Regions from separate parts of the Homo sapiens genome. Here region 1 is linked to region 2. Evidence: promoter capture Hi-C in human tissues and cell types (Jung and others, 2019). All regions are on one chromosome and are shown on one strand. Each heading gives the region's core, a stretch centred on a gene start or on the middle of the fragment in contact. The rest is flanking DNA. Distances are from core to core; before and after follow the strand shown. Region 1 overlaps KANK4 (KN motif and ankyrin repeat domains 4). Region 2 holds the start of KANK4 (KN motif and ankyrin repeat domains 4).

Evidence for each region. Contacts are between HindIII fragments. The study calls those that stand out against the background at their distance.
Region 1: a fragment that was not itself captured here is called in contact with the fragment with the promoter of KANK4 in region 2 in 1 of the 25 tissues and cell types used here (H1 embryonic stem cells).

What each region holds. Positions count from the first base shown.
Region 1 is chr1:62,261,931-62,265,455 of GRCh38, forward strand. It overlaps KANK4 (KN motif and ankyrin repeat domains 4), which reads right to left. Exons shown (of 10, transcript NM_181712.5): 7 at 1,162-1,381. Among named protein-coding and RNA genes, the nearest start is that of KANK4, 56 kb to the right of the region's middle. The HindIII fragment of the contact is 3,320 bases long and covers 611-3,525 here.
Region 2 is chr1:62,317,819-62,321,387 of GRCh38, forward strand. KANK4 (KN motif and ankyrin repeat domains 4) reads right to left here and starts at 1,616. Exons shown (of 10, transcript NM_181712.5): 1 at 1,288-1,616. RefSeq lists enhancers at 209-933, 934-1,656. The HindIII fragment of the contact is 19,099 bases long and covers 1-3,569 here.

The DNA.
Region 1 (3,525 bases), core at 1,021-3,520, 55 kb before region 2:
TCTATCTCTCTTTCATGAGCCACCATCCAGCTCCATCCCAATTGCTAGGCTGTGAGCTCCCAAGAAGCAGAGGGCTCACCTAGCTCACCTTTGCATCCCTGGTAGTAGCCAGTATGGACCTCATGTGTAGTCAATAAATATCTAATGAAAGATGAATGAATCAAGTTGAGTCAAATTGGTCAAATGGAGCCATGACCTTTGTTAAAAAGTATCTTCTGAAGATGGGAAAATGCCATTTTCCCTAGAGGCAGTACGGTATATAGCTCTGGAGGTGGACAGAGTACAAAACCTGACTCTACCCTTGACCAGCGCTGTAACTTGAGCAAGTTTTATAACTCTTGAGCCTCAGTTTCCTTAGCTGCAACATGAGAACAATACCCACATCACAGGAATGCTGTGAAGAACAAATGAGGCAAACACAGGCAAAGTGGTCTAGTCCAGTTCCTGGAACACAGAGGGAACTTTCAACAGTGAAGCATTTCCTTGACAGAAAGAAATGTGGTATAAGAATTGCCCTTCAAGTCATTCCATCAAAAAGACACCTGCATTTATATGCTATCACAGCACAATTCACAATTGCAAAGACATGGAATCAACCTAAATGCCTGTCAACCAATGAGTGGATAAGGAAAATGTTATATATATAAAAAATAAATATATAACGTATACTCACATATACATATAATAAAATGTTATATATACGTATATGCACAGACACACATACATACATTCCACGGAATACTACTCAGCCAGAAAAAAGAACAAAACAATGTCTTTTGCAGCAACTTGGATGGAACTGGAGGCCATTATTCTAAGTGAAGTAACTCAAGAACGGAAAACCAAATACTGCATGTTCTCATTTAAATGGGAGCTAAGCCACAGGTACACGAAGACATACAGAGTGGCATAATGGACAATTATACCAGAGAGTCAGAAGAGGGGAGGGTGGAAGGCAGTGAGGAAAAGCTACCTATTGGGTACCATGTATGCTATTTGGGTGATGGGTATACTACAAGACCAGACTTCACCACTGTGCAATTCATCCATGTAACCAAAAACCACTTGTACCTTTAAAGCTATTGAAATTTTTGAAAAAAATTTTAAAAATTGCCCTGCTCTTCAAGGAGGGACCCAGACTGTATGAATGCAACCACTTCTGACCTGTCTCCAGCAGCAGCTTCACGATGGAGAAGTTGGAGTGGGACACGCTGTAGTGAAGGGCCGTGTTCCCGTTGTGATCGGCCAAGTTGACAAGCAGTTTCAGGAAGTGTGGGGAGTGAGGCTGGACCTCGTGGAGGTAGGAGGCCACCACGGCGGGGCTAGACGACTTCCGGCTGGAGACGCGGAACCACTCTTGACTGATGGTGTTCAAGCTTTGCCTCTGAAACCCCAAAAAAGACCAATTCCAAGAGGTTCCCCGGCCAGCAAGAGTTCCTCCCTTACACAAGGAAAGACAGCTTTGGCCTCTGTCCCTGCAGCTCCCTCCAGCTTGCCATGTGATTTATTCCTGAAGGGCTCAGAGCTGGTGGGGTTAGGAATGCAGCAACATACTTTGTACTTGTGCGATCAGCCCCCTCTGGGAGTGGAAAGGAAGACTGGGAGGACAGCCTAGTAACCAGTAACAAGGCACTTAACTGGAAAAAGTTTGAGTCTGCGGGAAGTTTAGCTCACACCCCCCAGTAAGAAGTTTAGCTCAAACCCCTGGTATGCGCACAATTACAAAGGCCCTCTCCTTCCCCCTCACACAGCCAGCCCACAATGACCTTTCCCCAGACTCTATCAGGACACCTGCGTGTGTTTAATAGGCATAGCTGGAAAATCGCAACATCTTACTAATGGGAAACATGCATGCGAAGGCAAACAACATCTCCAATTTATGCTTGAAATAAAACCCAAACAGGTGTGCTTGACATGTTTGGCTTTTAAGCTTTCCAAGGACCTTGAGAGTAAATGGTTTAAGAACCCACGGCAGGACCCTGCTATCTGCAGCATTCAGCTCCTCTGGGACCATGAACGAGAAGAGTTCCAGAGCCAATGACATCAACTCTTGTGTGTGACATGAGCTCAGTGTTTAAAGGGTATTTACCTAATGGGGAAGAGAAGCTATTGAGAAATGATTATGATAAATGATTGCATACTCATGCTGGGAAGAGTCCTAGACTTGGGAGTCACTGAATCGATGTGACACAGTTTAATCCCTGGCTCGGCCGGGCGCGGCAGCTCTCGCCTGTAATCCCAACACTTTGGGAGGCCGAGGCGGGTATATCACCTGAGGTTGGGAGTTCAAGACCAGCTTGACCAACATGGAGAAACCCTGTCTCTACTAAAAATACAAAATTAGCCGGGCAAGGTGGCTCAGGCCTGTAATCCCAGCTACTCAGGAGGCTGAGGCAGGAGAATCGCTTGAACCCGGGAGGTGGAGGTTGTGTGTGAGTGCACCATTGCACTCCAGCCTGGGCAACAAGAGCGAAACTCCGTCTCAAATTAAAAAATAAAAATAAATAAATAAATAAAATCACTGACTCAGCTGTGGGACCTTGGAAGTCATACAACCTTTTTGATCCTTACTTGTCCTGTTATAAAATAGGAGTAAAAGGGGACTGGCCCCTTACCTTCCATGGCTCTACAGAGTGAGGTCCTTACACACCTGCTTCTTCCTCTAAGATGGGGGCAAGGGAGACAGTATCCGGTGCTTTGATCCTAACATGGGTGTGGTGCCGGGCTTGCATATCCTCTGATCACTTTTCTAGAGCAGAATCAGTGGAATCTTTTGTGGCTGAAACACTTTAATAAATCAGAGTATCTCCTTTATCCATGGGATCTTCAAGAAAATCTGGAGAAAGATCCTAATATTAAGGAACAGAGGGGTGGATTTTGTTTTTTGTTTTTGTCCGTTTGTTTGGTTGGTTGGTTTCTTTTGAGACAGAGTCTCGCTCTGTGGCCCAGGCTGGAGTGCAGTTGTATGATCTCAGCTTGCTGTAACCTCCACCTCCTGGGTTCAAGCAATTCTCCTGCCTCAGCCTCCCAAGTAGCTGGGATTATAGGCGCGGGCCACCACACCCAGCTAATTTTCGTACTTTAGTAGAGACAGGGTTTTGCCATGTTGGCCAGCCTGGTCTTGAACTCCTGACCTCAGGTGATCCGTCCATCTCGGCCTTCCAAAGTGCTGGGATTACAGGCGTGAGCCACTGCGACCGGTCGAGTGGTGGATTTTGAATGAAGAGCTAAGAAAGACCTTAGTTCGATAATTCAATTAAGAATAAGTGACAGGAGTTTTGATCAACATCCACATCACATATTGGTTCTTTTTTTTTTTCTCTGTGTTTTTGTGACAGGATCTCACTCTAGTGCTAAGGCTGGAGTGCAGTGGTGCAATCACAGCTCACTGCAGCCTCAACCTCTGGGGCTCAGGCGATTCTCCCACCTCAGCCTCTGAGTAGCTGGGACTACAGGCGTGTGCCACCATGCCAGGCTAATTTTTTGTATTTTTTTGTAGAGACAGGGTTTTGCCATATTGCCCAGGCT
Region 2 (3,569 bases), core at 366-2,865:
GAGGCCAGAAGGTGCCAGTTTTGTTCACTTCTGTACCTCACTACGTTGACCAGTGCCTGGCACAGAGCATTTGTTGATTGAATCAGTCTGGTCTGATCCCCGAGCCATTCCCCAAAACTCACTTTCCCCAGGTCACATTATGGTCCAGTGAAGTGGGAAGGCTGGGCTTGAAAAGGCAGTATTAGAACGGACTCTGCCTCCATTCCCAGTGTAGCTTTCCTGTGTCACATTTTGAGAGGCTCTAAGCAACCTGGGCTTGATTTACCCAAGCAGGTCCTTGGGAATCGTGTTTAACTCAAGATGCTTTCTCCCCATGCCTCAGCCGGGTCACTGGCTGCATCTGATCCTCCTCTGGCCCTATTTGGTAGATAGGACTTTGCCCAGGCCTCAGGGGGTCCTCCTCCCTCTCCTGGAAAATACTCCCTCTTTGCCCTAAAGGCTTGCACTCCAGGGCGCTTAGGAACTAAGACTTGAGTTTGGCAGCCCCGAAGGATGCCCAGGGCAAGAGTTAGGTTCAGACCCAGCGTAGCGGCCATGGGCTCGACTTTCCAACTCCCATTTCTGGCCAGTCTGCGGGGTCAAAGTACCCAGTCACAGATTTGACCTTACCGGAGAGGCAGAAGGGAAAGGAGCCCACAGGAGGCATGCGGGCTGGGCAAAGCGCCCTCGGCGGCGTCTAGAGCACTCGGAGCTGCCCCATTGCCTCCGCCCAAGGTCGCGGCCCAAAGGGAGCCCTGGAAAGTTCAGCCAGGGGCCGAGGAGTGCCAGGGTTGGCACTACGGGGAGACTTTTGCGACAGGAGAGAGACTAAGAGCTCGATTCCAGGTAGCAGTGGGAGCCCGCGGCAAAGAACGCCCAGTCCCGCAGGCTGCATCCCAGACCGCAGCGCCTAGCTCGGAAAAGCTGGGCGGGGGCTGCACCACCTGAGTCGCAAGGACAGCACGGCCTCCCCCTCCTCACCAGTGTTCTCCACCCCCAGAATTGGGGCGCGGAGAGCCAATCTGGGCTGGAAAGGGAGCGGCGCCCACCTTTGGGCAGCCCGAGCAGCCCCGCTCCTTTTCTGTCGCAGACCCCAGGCTGGGAGGCGGGGGCGCCAGGTCGGCCCAAGCTGCCGCAGCCACTGCTTTAAAGGGAGCCGGGGACGCGGCGCTGGGGACTGGGCGAGGCGGGTGGCAGAGGCAAGAGGAGAGTGGTCGAGCGCCGGGGCCAACACTCGGGTCGCGCAGGGCGGGTGTTGAACACCCCAGCAGACGCACTGCGGGGGACTGGGGTCGCAGAGTCCCTTACCTTGGCGAGCTGCGGAAGTCCTGCGCGAGGCGGCCCGCGGTGCACGGGGCCGGGGCAGCTAGGCGCACACCCCGGCTTCGGAGCGCACGCAACCTCCGGGTGCACTGTCCGCGTCCCAGGCGCGCACCCCGGGGCTGGCGCACCCTGGTCGTCCGCGGCGCGCACACCCTCCAGGCGCCCTCTGGCCGACGGTCTCGGCCCTGGCCCCGGCGCACCCCTGCGGGCACACCCACCGCGGCGGATGCGGGACTGGCCAGGCGCCGCCAGCCGCGGCTTCGCCCCGCGTCGCCAGCTGCCAACAGCGCCCGAGTCCCCGCCTTCGCTAGGGGAGAAAAAAAAGACTCCTGACGCGGCGCGGACTTTGGTGTGTAGGAAGGGGCAGAATTGCGAAACCGAGGGGAGGGTCTTAGCCTCGATAAACTCAAAAGCCCTTGATAAACATGAGCTTAGAAGAAAAACTTTTTGAAAAGAGACCAAAAACTCCTAACCTGTTCATAGCGCTTTTCAGATTCCCAAAGTGCTTTCGTATGCGTTTATCTCGGTTCATCTAGACATTTCCATCCTCATTTGATAGGTGCAGAAACAGCACCAGACAAGGTAATGACTTGCCCCAGCCAGGACTGGAACCTAGGTCTGGCCACTGGGAAGCTGGGTGCAGTAAGTTAGGTCCTCGCCAGCGGATGTGGGCCAGTGAGGGCTGGGGTCCTAGTAACAGAACTTTTACCTCTCCTAAATCGTCTTTTTCCATCTCCTTTTTTTCTTCCCAATCCTTGCTGTAGTCCCACTCAGGAACCCTAAGTCTTTCATTTCACACTCCGACCTCCCACCAAAGGTTTGTTGTTGTTGTTGCTGTTTGAGACGGAATCTCGCTCTATGGCCAAGCTGGAGAGCAGTGGCGCGATCCCGACTCACTGGAACTTCCGCCTCCCTGGTTCAAGCGATTCTCCTGCCTCAGCCTCCCGAGTAGCTGGGACTACAGGCGCACACCACCACGCCCAGCTAACTTTTGTATTTTTAGTAGAGACGGGGTTTCACCATGTTGGCCAGGCGGGTCTCGAACGTCAGGTGATCCGCCCACCTCGGCCTCCCAAAGTGCTGGGATTACATGCATGAGCCACGGCGCCCGGCCCACCAGAGTTTTTTATCAGTTCAAAATGTTTGCGTTTCAACCGCTAACCTTGAATGAACAGTTCACTAAGTGCCTGGTGGGCGTTGTGCACCCTAACCCTAGGAAAAAGGAGCTGCTGCTACTCCTCCTTTACAGATGAAGACAACAGAGATAGGCAAGTAGAGGGCCGTGGACCCCGTAAGACTCCGGATGCCAGCTCTGACCCCCACAATGGGCATCCTTCATGGGCCCATTGGCAAGGGCTAACACTTAGGCAAAGGGGTTTCGTTTTTGACATTGTGACCCAGATGGGGGAGTACTTTCTAGGACTTTCATTTTACGTTTTTATAGAAATATGGTTATTTGAACGATTTCACTTCCACTAGAGCTCCACTGGAGCAAATCAATATCCCAGAGCAATAATAAATGGCAGCAGAGACTTGGTCCCAGTGTTGGGACATAGTAGGGAGTGGTGGGGACTGTGGTGAGCTTGATAGCAGCTCCAGGTTCTTGCCCAAGGGAAGGGGCTGCTGCTACTCAGCTCAGTCTATTTTGTCATCTAGGGAAAGGGATTCATGTGGCCAGATCCTCCCATTTTGAAAAAGAAGCCATCAGCCGGACACGGTGGCTCACGCCAGTAATCCCAGCACTGTGGGAGGCCAAGGTGGGTGGATCAGCTGAGGTCAGGAGTTTGAGACAAGCCTGGCCAACATGTGAAACCATCTGTACTAAAAATACAAAATTAGCAAGGTGTGGTGGTGCGTGCCTGTAATCCCAGCTACTCAGGAGGCTGAGGCAGGAGAATCACTTGAACCCAGGAGGCAGAGATTGCAGTGCACCGAGATCGCACCACTGCCCTCCAGCCTAAGTGACAGAGCAAGACTCCGTCTCAAAAAAAAAAAAAAAGCCATAAGTCAGATATTTAAGTGAAGGCCCCAAATTTGTTAGGAGCTCATTTGTATAATGCTAAACACTTTCTACATAGGTCAACACTGTTCAAGCCAAAGGAAATGGCTTTATGGATCAGATCCAGCCTACAGGCCAGGGGTTTGTGCTCTCCTGTTTGGGGGCACTTCACACTATTTTCATTTGGGCTTCCCAACATCCCTGTGGGATAGACCCAGTGTGGATCATATTTCCATTTTAGGGAAGAGGAAGCCCAGTTCAGGTGGGC